Regions from separate parts of the Homo sapiens genome. Here regions 1 and 3 are each linked to region 2. Evidence: promoter capture Hi-C in human tissues and cell types (Jung and others, 2019). All regions are on one chromosome and are shown on one strand. Each heading gives the region's core, a stretch centred on a gene start or on the middle of the fragment in contact. The rest is flanking DNA. Distances are from core to core; before and after follow the strand shown. Region 1 overlaps RBM5 (RNA binding motif protein 5). Region 2 holds the start of TRAIP (TRAF interacting protein). Region 3 holds the start of SEMA3F (semaphorin 3F).

Region 1 (3,280 bases), core at 162-2,661, 260 kb before region 2:
CACTTTGGTCTTAGCAGAAAAGCTACTAAGTTACCATGATTTCCATGAAGAGTTTTAAAACATGCTAAACTTTTTTTTTTTTTTTTTTTGAAACGGAGTTTTGCTCTGGTTGCCCAGGCTAGAGTGCAATGGCGCGACCTCCGGCTCACTGCAAACTCCGCCTCCTGGGTTCAAGCAATTCTCCTGCCTCAGCCTCCCGAGCAGCTGGGATTACAGGCCAACCACACCCAGCTAATTTTGTATTTTTAGTAGAGACGGGTTTCTCCATGTTGGTCAGGGTGGTCTTGAACTCCCAACGCCAGGTGATCCGCCTGCCTCGGCCTCCCAAAGTGCTGGGATTACAGGCGTGAGCCACCACGCCCGGCTAAAACATGTTAAACTCTTGAATTTAAAAATCCGAACATGTCAAGACCAGCCTGGGCAACAGAGTGAGGCCCCATCTCTGTAAAAAATTAAAAAATTAGCCTGCATGGTGGTATGTGCTTGTAGTCCCAGCTACTTGGAACACTAAAGTGGGAGAATCGCGTGAGCCCGGGAGGTCGAGGCTGCAGGCTCCCGAGTAGCTGGGATTACAGGTGCACACCACCACGTCTGGCTAATTTTTTTGTATTTTTGGTAGAGACAGGGTTTCACCATGTTGGCCAGACTGGTCTCAAACTCCTGACCTCAGGCAATCCACCTGCCTCGGCCTCCCAAAGTGTTGGGATTACAGGTGTGAGCCACCACGCCTGGCCAACCCTGCCTCAAAATCAATCAATCAATCAATCAGAACGTGGTGATGGGGGCAAGAAATAAACTGATTTCATCACCAGGCTTGACTGGCTCAGACATGCTTGACCCACCTACCCACCCAAGAATAAAGAGACACAGGACACCCATTTCTCAAGGTATTTCTTTTGTAAAGGAGCCAGATTTGGCAACTAGACTGAAAATCTTCCAAAATTCTGTACAAATGTGTAATATACAAATATACACAAGGCTTTTGCCAAGAAAAGACATCACAACAAATGACAGAGGTGGCTTTGGTGTCACATACCACCTACAGCATCTCAAACCCCTAGGAATGTGAGGGGCTGATGGACCACAACATAGGCTACACATGTAAACACGCTACATTACACTATGTACACTGGAGTATAAACAATCCACTGTCCTCTCCGGTCTGTTCACAAGCCCTCTGGCGGGAAGGAAGGCCATTCACCAGGCAACCCACATAAGGGGAACTTCTTTAAGGTGGGAGGGAGAACCCTGCAGAATGAAGTGGTTCACCCTAAGATCTATTAACAGCACAAGGCATGCCCTTAAAGAGACAGGCGGTAACAGCGAATTCGGGAGATGGACCACTTCTTGTGCTCCTTGTCATCTCTCTCTCTCTCTCTCTCTCACTCCATCTCAGTGAACCGGGCAAACATGGCTTTCCGGACAGCATCTTTGTAGGAATCGGCGCCCGACAAACCATATGCGCTGCCTTTGGCTCCTAGGCCAGCTCCCTTTAGCCGAACTTGAGCCTGGGAAAGCACAGAGACTGTCAGCTGGGAGGTAGGGTATGGGCTGCTCCACCTCTCACCATGCCCACTCCTTACCCAGCAGGACCACCCACCAGGAGACAGAAGAGAGAAAACTGTATATGAAGACAAGGATTTCTCCAGAAGAGACCAGGAGCAAGTATAAGGACTGGAGGAATAAAATGGGCTACGGAACACAGGCAGATGAAGCAAATCACCCACCCCTCAATGCCTGCTCAGCAAGCATCCACGCCTAGGAAAGGGCCCCAAAGTATTCCTCTGAAGGTCTGGGAAAGGTATGGTAATTACAGGCACACATTATACAGGATAGCTCAATGTCAGCAGAACTCACATAAACAGGATGAACATGGTCTACAAGAGTCTGACCTAAGCTGTGCTCCCAGGACAGAGCAGGGGCAATTACGGGTGGAGCTCCTGCCTAGAAGGCCAGTGGGTAGGGGCCTCCGATCCTGGGATATGATGCCTCAATGTGGGCTCTGATCAATTTAAAGATTTCTTATCATGGGTGAAAACCCTACTAAATTTTTTTTTTTTTTGAGACAGAGTCGCTGTTGCCCAGGCTGGAGTGCAGTGGCGTGATCTCGGCTCACTGCAACCTCCTCCTGCCAGGTTCTAGCAATTCTCCTGCCTCAGCTTCCTGACTAGCTGGGATTACAGGCACACGCTGCCACGTCCAGTTAATATTTTGTATTTTAGTAGAGACGGGGTTTCACCGTGTTGCCCAGGCTGGTCTCAAACTTCTGGGCTCAGGCAATCCACCCTCCTCGGCCTCCCAAAGTGCTGGGATTACAGGTGTGAGCTCATGCCTGTAATCTGCCCCTTCATGCTAAGGTAAAGCTGCTCCTGGCTCCCAGGCTCTATGAGTGCTCTGATCTCATCTCTGGAACCGGCCTGTAAGCCTGGCAAACATCAAGACCTGACCCCACTGCTTACCTCAATGGGAGCCGTAATGCCTTGACACTTTCGTCCCAAGCCAGAGCCTTCCCGCCAGCCCATGGCCTGCAGCATCTTGTTGCCAATGTTACTGTGGTCAATGCCATCTTTGGTGGGTTGCTCGTAATTCCTGCCAGTGGCAAACACACAGTTACTTAAAACAGCCAGGGCCCCAGCTTACGAACTGGAAAATGTGCACATCACATACACAGTGCCGGCATCAAACTGCTTCTTGCGCTTGGGCTCTGGAGGTTCTGGAATGCCGTACTTCTCCCGTCTTTCTGCAGCTCGGTCTCGGTATTTCATCTACATGGGAGAAAAAACACTGCTGGAAATGTTCACAGACTTCAACCTGTAACCGTCTAATGCACCTATTCAAAACTATCCCCTCAAGTATTTTTAAATCTGAAGAATGCTTTTTTTAGACTGCTCTGAAATACCAAATTCCCTTGTTCCCATCATCATACCTAGTCATATCTGAAATGTTAAATTTGTAAATATGAATTGTGTGGAACCAGGGGCAGAACTATGTCTCCAACAAGCAGTTTTATTTAATTAGCCACCCTCTGTCAAGCTACTCAACCAGCCCACTGGGCAGTGGGTACAGCTTGCGAAGAGGAAGGCAGAGTTGCCCGTTCTCCTCAGCATTTGGACAGGCATACCTCCAACATTTGGAAAGGCATACCTCCAACATCAAGGAGGCTTCCAGAGACCTGTTCAGCAGTCGCTGGGGAGGTGGAACCATAGATAGTAGGGCAGGAAGGGTGTGGGGAGAAGAAAAGCAAAAGCCTTAACTACAAACACTTCAGAAATATCTCAGG
Region 2 (3,395 bases), core at 204-2,703:
TGGCAAATAAACATCACCCTGCAAAGCCTCTGGCCACCCTCTCGCCTTTGCTTCCTCTGTCCTACTGGGGAGGAGCCCCTGGAAGGCAGTGGGGAAGGGAGAGGCTGGGAGCAGGTTCACAAGTAGTGGCTGGGAGTAGTAGTGAACAGTGCCCTGTGGATTTCTTGGGCTGAGGGTGAAGATCATCCTCACCACAGTGTATTCCTCAATGGTGGTGGTGGTGGGGGTCCTCTGAACTCTAGAAATCCATGTGAGTAGTGGGTCTTGGGCTGCATTTGGACCAAGGAATACTCCCTGGGCTGAGAGCTCAAGTAAGGGCTGCTGTTTTTGACTCCTGTTGACCGAGGAGCCTTACTCTTGATTTAGGCATAGAGCTGGAATCTACCTGGGCCAGCCACCGCAAGGACAGACCCTGCTCATAGCCAAAGATAGCTTCCCTGAGCTAGGGAGAGGGTGTAGGGTGAGCAATGCACAAAGATTCTATGCTGCTCTGTGTTGATTCCTTCTTTCTGTGAACACCTGTGCTTTCCACCTATGCCCCAAATGAAATCTCACTCTGGGTCTATTTCAGCTGGAGCAGATCAGCTTTATATTATGGGACTATGCACAGGGTTTCTTCTGGGTAGAGGGAGTAACACTGCCACAGATACTAAGCCTAAAAACCCAAAAGTTGACTTACTCCAGCCCAGGTGGGCCTGGGTGAACTCACCAGGGATGCTGCTCTCTGGGAGGACCTCAAAGATAACCTCCTCAAAGATAACTTCTCTGATGTGGGAATAATAAAAAGGATTTGTTAGTCTCTAGTCTTTGAAGCATCTGGGCCTCCAAAATTCCAACCCTACTACAGTCTCAAGCATAACTGATCCTCCTGAGAGCTAAGAGCTAAAGTCAGGGTACTGGCCCTAGTGTCTCCAAACTCAAGGATAGTCATATCTTACTTGGATGAAGCCAAGGTTGGCCTGGGGTGACCTGAGGGACTGGGGCCTATGTGTCCATCTTTCTAGAATCGCCCGGAACTGAGGACTGAGAGGGTAGGGTATTGTGGTCTATGGGAACTACAGACCATAGCGCATGGTCCATCACTGTCCAGAGCCCAAGGGACCCATCGGGACCATTGTTCTATTCCCTTGCGGCTGCGGTTTTCTCTGCCTTGGCCCAGCCTGCCTCGCGCCAGCTCTGGCATGGGACCACAATGCGCTGCCTTGCCCTGGAAAAGGGTCCAGCTGGCAGCCTCGCTGCTCCCCGCCTTGATATAATGCTGCGCTCTCAAGTGGCAGGTCGAGTCTCCCCAGAGGACGCCTGAGAGCGACCGCGCTCCGCCCAGGATTCTCTACGGCCTCGGGGCCGCTAAGCCCCGCCCATAGTTCCGCCCATCCGAGAATTTGTCCAATCCAGGCGAAGTATTCACGCTCCGCCCAAAGTTTTGTGTTGTCACTTCCGGCCCGCTCCAGGAAGTCGTGCTGCGGAGCCAAATTTGAAGCAAGCGGAGGCGCGGGGGCGCGTCTACGAAGCCGGACCTGTAGCAGTTTCTTTGGCTGCCTGGGCCCCTTGAGTCCAGCCATCATGCCTATCCGTGCTCTGTGCACTATCTGCTCCGACTTCTTCGATCACTCCCGCGACGTGGCCGCCATCCACTGCGGCCACACCTTCCACTTGCAGTGGTGAGTGACTGCAGTGTTGGGGCCCGGTGTTTGCCCGGGTACCGCTTCAGGGCCTTGAGGTGTTGGGCCTCCAGGCGGTCCAACCCCGGAATCCAGACAAGTGATGAGAACCTTCCTCCTAGACGAGGCCCCACGGGAGCTTCCCAACCTGGGCAGAAGTGGGTCAGGACAGGCTTTCTGGTAGAGGTGATAGCTGAGCTAAGCCTGAGGGGGACTAAGATGGCTCAGTGAAGATAGATGCTTCCTTGATCACCTATACAAACAGATGTGATTTCAAAACCGTTAGCCTGGGCAAGGGTGAGCTTTCACCACATCAACAAGTCCTTTTATTTCTTCCAGATAGAAACCTGCTAGGCTTCTGGCTACCCAAGAGAGTTTGCTGTGCCTTACTTGATGGTTTGGAATTATTCTACCCAGAGTCATCTCACTGTCCAGACACCCCAATGTATTCGCCATGTCAGCAAACCCGTTTAACATGGGGAAGGCAAGGAGATGCTCCCCTATCCAGGGGTCCTGCTGACCGTGTAGGGCCATTCTGTTGAGTGTACAGCTAGTGGGGAAAGATTCCCCTAGCAGATGTGGACAGGCCGGTTTGGACCTCCTAGCAAAAGAGATAAGGCAGCGTTACCCCTGGGAATGGTGGGTGATAATAATCACAGGGTCTTGTGGGGCTAAAGGCCCTAGGAAGCAGAAAGGCAGGCATGACACTGATGGCTGCTGGCTTACTTGCAAAGCTTTGTTTAGGCCTGTGTTGCTGACAGCCTGAGCCCCATGCTGAGGGAGCCACTGCTGTTTGGTTAGACTAGAAATTAAGCTCGCCTCTAAGCGTACTCTATTTTCTGTTTGCCTACTCTATTTTCTTCTATCCTTTTACTTTATTTATTTATTTTTATTTTATTTTATTTTTGAGATGGAGTCTCGCTCCTGTCGTGTAGGCTGGAGTGCAGTGGCGTGATCTCGGCTCACTGCAACCTCCACCTCCTGAGTTCAAGTGATTCTCCTTCCTCAGCCTCCCAAGTAGCTGACATTACAGGCGTGCGCCACCACGCCCAGCTAATTTTTGTGTTTTTCATAGACAGGGTTTCTCCATGTTGGCCAGGCTGGTCTCGAACTCCTGACTTCAGGTGATCCACCCACCTTGGCCTCTCAAAGTGCTAGGGCCTATCCTTTTACTTTAAACTTTTCTGTGTCCTTGTGTTTTACATGTATCCCTTGAAACAGCATTTATTTCTTTTTTTGTATATTAAAAAGTACTTTAGCTTACTGCAAAGATCTTTATTTTATTTTATTTTGAGACAGGGTCTCACTCTGTTACACAGGCTGCAGTGCAGTGGTGCCATCTCGGCTCACTGCAGCCTCTACCTCCTGGGCTAAGGTGATTCTCCCATCTTAGCCTCCCAAGTAGCTGGGACTACAGGCGCCTGCCACCATGCTTGACTATTTTTTTTTTTTTGTATTTTTAGTAGAGATGGGGTCTTGCTATGTTGCCCAGGCTGGTCTTGAACCCCTGGACTCAAGTAATCCACCCACCTCTGCCTCCCAAAGTGCTAGGATTACAGGTGTGAACCACCGCACCCAGCCTTGGAAAACAACATTTAGTTGGACTTTTAAAAATCCAGTCTGATAATCTTTGTATTTAACTGGACCATTTAGTCTACTTAAAATTGTTGCAATTACTGATTAAATAAAGAGTAAACATATTGTCTTTAGTCGATTCTGTTTTGCCTTGCCTAT
Region 3 (3,171 bases), core at 238-2,737, 300 kb before region 2:
GGGTGGGCTGCCGCCTTCTCTCTGGCCCCTGCTTTCTCTCCGGCCCCCACCTCCCCACTTCCGGGCCTGGCTCCTTCGGAGCTGAAGGGGGAGCAGCAGGAGTAGGCATGCCTGTGCCCCCCGCCTGCCTAGACACTATACCCTACGGGGTCCTGGCACACCCCTTGGGTAGCCTGGGAAGAGGCCTCAGCTCCATCCAACTCCCTGGGCTGAGATGGGGCTCCCAACCCCTGGGTGCAGTTTTCCCTTCTCTGCAACTAGGATAACTACTGGGAGACTATCTGGGTGAATTCAGGAGGACAGAGGTCCCCAACCTGGCCCAGCTTCAGGGTGGACATACTGGTGTCTTTGGTTGGCGTCTCCCTTACCTCTCCCAAGCAGTAATGTTCTGGTGGCAAAACACAGCTATCTCAAAAATTAGGAGTTATTTATCCAGTGGGGCCCCCAGCCCCAGCTCCAGCCAACTCCCGCCAGCACTGCCTCATTCCTAGGCCAACTTTGATACCCTCCTGTCCCATCTGCTGGGGGCAACCCCGCCAAGCCCCCGCTGTCCCCTGCCCACTTCACCACTGGGACCCCTGGTTCAAACTAGGGATTGACCGCAGGCTCTCCAAGCTCACCTACACACTACATACAGCCGTGCCCCTAATCCAGGCAGGACTCTGCTGTAAAAGCAAACCCAAGGTGGCAGCTGGGGGTCAAGGGGCTGGCACAATGCTGGGAGAAATGCCTCAGGACTGGAGGTCCTCCCACTCTGCTGATGTGGGAGACCCCCCACGTGGGGACTGCCAGTATACCGCTTCCCTTCGGGCTGGCCAGTCCTCAAGTAGAGACACTGAGGTAGGGCAAGCGCATCTACGGGGAAGAGCGCTGCCTCGGGCGTTAATGGGAGAGAGAGCTGAGGCAGAAGGGGGATCGGAACTCCCGCTCCAGAAGCGTGAAGGTGGGGGTGTATGAGAGCACCCACCCAGAACCTTGCAGGAAAAAGTTGCTTTGCACATGGGTGACCCCGCAGGCCACATCATCCACACATCCATACGCCGCCCCGTAGGTAAGGGGTCCGGGCCTCCAGGACAGGTAAGAATCCCACCCCAGCCTTGTTGCCCCTATGTCCGCGGGCAGCCCCCCGGCTCGACGAGACCCGCTCCCCGGACACTTCTGCGGAGTTGCAGTGCCGCGGGTCCCAGAGGGGTCGCGGGGTGGCCCGGCCGCCTGCCCGCTCCCTCCCGGTTCCCGCTGCACTCACCTCTTCCGCAGCGGCGGGGCCTGGGCGCCCGGGCGGCGGCGGCGGCACGGAGCGGCTCCCGTTGGGCCGGTCCGCGCTAGCGGCCCCCCGGGGCCATGGCCCTGCCCGCGACCTCTCGCCGCTGCGCCTCAGCCGGGATCGGCGCCGCGGCCGCGGCTTAACCGGTTCCGCGGGCTTCGGGCGCGTCAGCAGCCGAGGGCCCGGGCCCCAGCCCGGGCCATGGGAAGGCTCAGGGGCGCTCGGGGCCGCCTCCCCTGGGGTGGGCTGCGGGCGCCCCCTGGCCGGCGCGCCGAGGGCGCATTCCCCAGCGCGGGGCGCGGGCGGTGGCGCGCACTCGGCTTCGAAGCGCTGCGCTCTCCTGGCTGCTGGACCCGGGCCGGGCGGCCGCGCTGGGCTGCACGGTTCCTCGCGGCGTACCCAGGTCCTGCGCTGCGCTCGGGGCTCTCCGGACCGCCGCGGTTCGTTCGCTCGCTCTGGTCTCGCGGCCGCCGGCGGGACGGGGCGCTCAGAGCCGCGCGGGGAGCGCCGGCAATTGGCCGCCCGTGGGCGACATTTGCATAGCGCAGCCCCGCCCCGCCCGGCCCGCCCAGCCCCACCCCCGGGGCGGGACCCGCCCAGCCACCGCCCCGCCCCCGCTCCACCTGTCCGTGGGCCGGGCTCAGGGTTCCCAGGCGGTGGGCACCCCGCGCCGGGGGAGACTAGTCTGCACCCCTCGCCCCCGCCCCCGCTTCGCGGGCGGCGCCCCCGCCCCGCCCTGGCTTTGTCTCTCTGTGAATACACCGCACACATCGCGCCTGGTGTTTACCCGGGCATTCAACTCCCTGGCGAGAAGGGCTGCAGCGCCAGGGAGCAACGAGCCTGCGCTCACCTGAGCACCCCCTTCCGCGTCCCTCATTCCCACTCGCCGCCGGCCGTGCCCCTGGTCCCGTGCGTGGGCCCCGCGGCGCAGGACCCCTGACTGCCCGGGCTGCTCAGCAGGTGGCGGTGCAGCCCCTGGGACGGCTGGCACCGCCGGACCTTCCCGCGGGCTCAGCCTCCAGCCTAGGCCAGGTCGGGGGCAGCCCAGCCACACAGCTCTCTCCAGCCATTCAACGACTCCCCGTGATCGCCTCAATCGCCAGCCCTTATTTCAGGCCAGCAGCTCCCACAGACTCTCCTTATAGTTCCATACCTTAGAGAGGCCAGATCAGCTAGCACCTTCTCTCCTCAAGGGGACATTTGCTTTCAAATGGCCTGGTGATGAGCCAATGGCTCAGCAACTGAGAAGGGCCTACCGTGACCCCAGGAAGGGACCCTCTGCCCAACCCAACTTTCCAAGGTCATGGCCTCACCACCAGGACCACTTCTCAGCCCTGCCCCGGGCACCCTGCGGAGGCTCCCAGGGGCGTTGGCCCTTTGTCCTCTCCTTCATCCTCTTCCTGTTCTGTCTTCTGTGCCCTCCTCTTTCTCCTCTTTCCTTTCTCCTCTTCTCCCTCTGCCTCTCCTTCCTTCTCCCCTCTCTTCTCCCTCTTCCTCTCTCCTCTTCTCCCTCTTTTCCATCTCCCTCCTTTTCCTCCTTCTCCTCTCTTCTCCTGGATTTTTCCTTCTCTGCCCTCTCCTCCTCTCCCTTCTCTTCCTCCACCCCATGCATTTCCTTCTCTTCTTCCTCCTCCTTCTTCCTGCTCTTTACCCTCTTCCTCCTTTCTCTTTTTCTTCTCACTCCTCCTCTCCGCCTTCTTCCTCCTCCCACTTCTCTCCCTGGCTAGCAAGACCTCCAGGAAAAGACCTCTCTCCCTCTGACCCATTGACTGGTTGACTCCAAGTGCAAGGTGGAGCTGGGCACTAGGGATCCTGCTGAGGGTCTCCTGACTCAGGACTTAGAGTGCTGCCTCATGCTCCAAGCACAGGCAGGGCATTTGAGGTGAGCAAACACCATCCTGGAGTTA

What was found. The method cuts DNA at HindIII sites, captures the fragments that hold promoters and counts their contacts. A contact is called where the count stands out against the background at its distance.
Region 1: a fragment that was not itself captured here is called in contact with the fragment with the promoter of TRAIP in region 2 in 2 of the 25 tissues and cell types used here (dorsolateral prefrontal cortex and thymus).
Region 3: the fragment with the promoter of SEMA3F here is called in contact with the fragment with the promoter of TRAIP in region 2 in 2 of the 25 tissues and cell types used here (H1 embryonic stem cells and lymphoblastoid cells).

The regions. Positions count from the first base shown.
Region 1 is chr3:50,116,559-50,119,838 of GRCh38, reverse strand. RBM5 (RNA binding motif protein 5) reads right to left here. Exons shown (of 25, transcript NM_005778.4): 23 at 2,668-2,765; 24 at 2,460-2,589; 25 at 818-1,508. The coding sequence ends at 1,383. SEMA3F-AS1 (SEMA3F antisense RNA 1) reads left to right here. Exons shown (of 4, transcript NR_135301.1): 4 at 1,591-3,280. Among named protein-coding and RNA genes, the nearest start is that of RBM5-AS1, 17 kb to the right of the region's middle. The HindIII fragment of the contact is 8,641 bases long and covers 1-3,280 here.
Region 2 is chr3:49,854,622-49,858,016 of GRCh38, reverse strand. It overlaps TRAIP (TRAF interacting protein), which reads left to right and starts at 1,453. Exons shown (of 15, transcript NM_005879.3): 1 at 1,453-1,661. The coding sequence starts at 1,564. CAMKV (CaM kinase like vesicle associated) reads left to right here. Exons shown (of 11, transcript NM_024046.5): 11 at 1-28. The HindIII fragment of the contact is 12,385 bases long and covers 1-3,395 here.
Region 3 is chr3:50,153,640-50,156,810 of GRCh38, reverse strand. It overlaps SEMA3F (semaphorin 3F), which reads right to left and starts at 1,487. Exons shown (of 19, transcript NM_004186.5): 1 at 1,247-1,487. LOC124909484 (basic proline-rich protein-like) reads right to left here and starts at 2,141. Exons shown (of 2, transcript XM_047449434.1): 1 at 2,115-2,141; 2 at 1,022-1,750. The coding sequence starts at 2,141. The coding sequence ends at 1,022. It overlaps SEMA3F-AS1 (SEMA3F antisense RNA 1), which reads left to right and starts at 726. Exons shown (of 4, transcript NR_135301.1): 1 at 726-1,077. RefSeq lists silencers at 1,503-1,972, 2,003-2,142, 2,153-2,212. The HindIII fragment of the contact is 29,271 bases long and covers 1-3,171 here.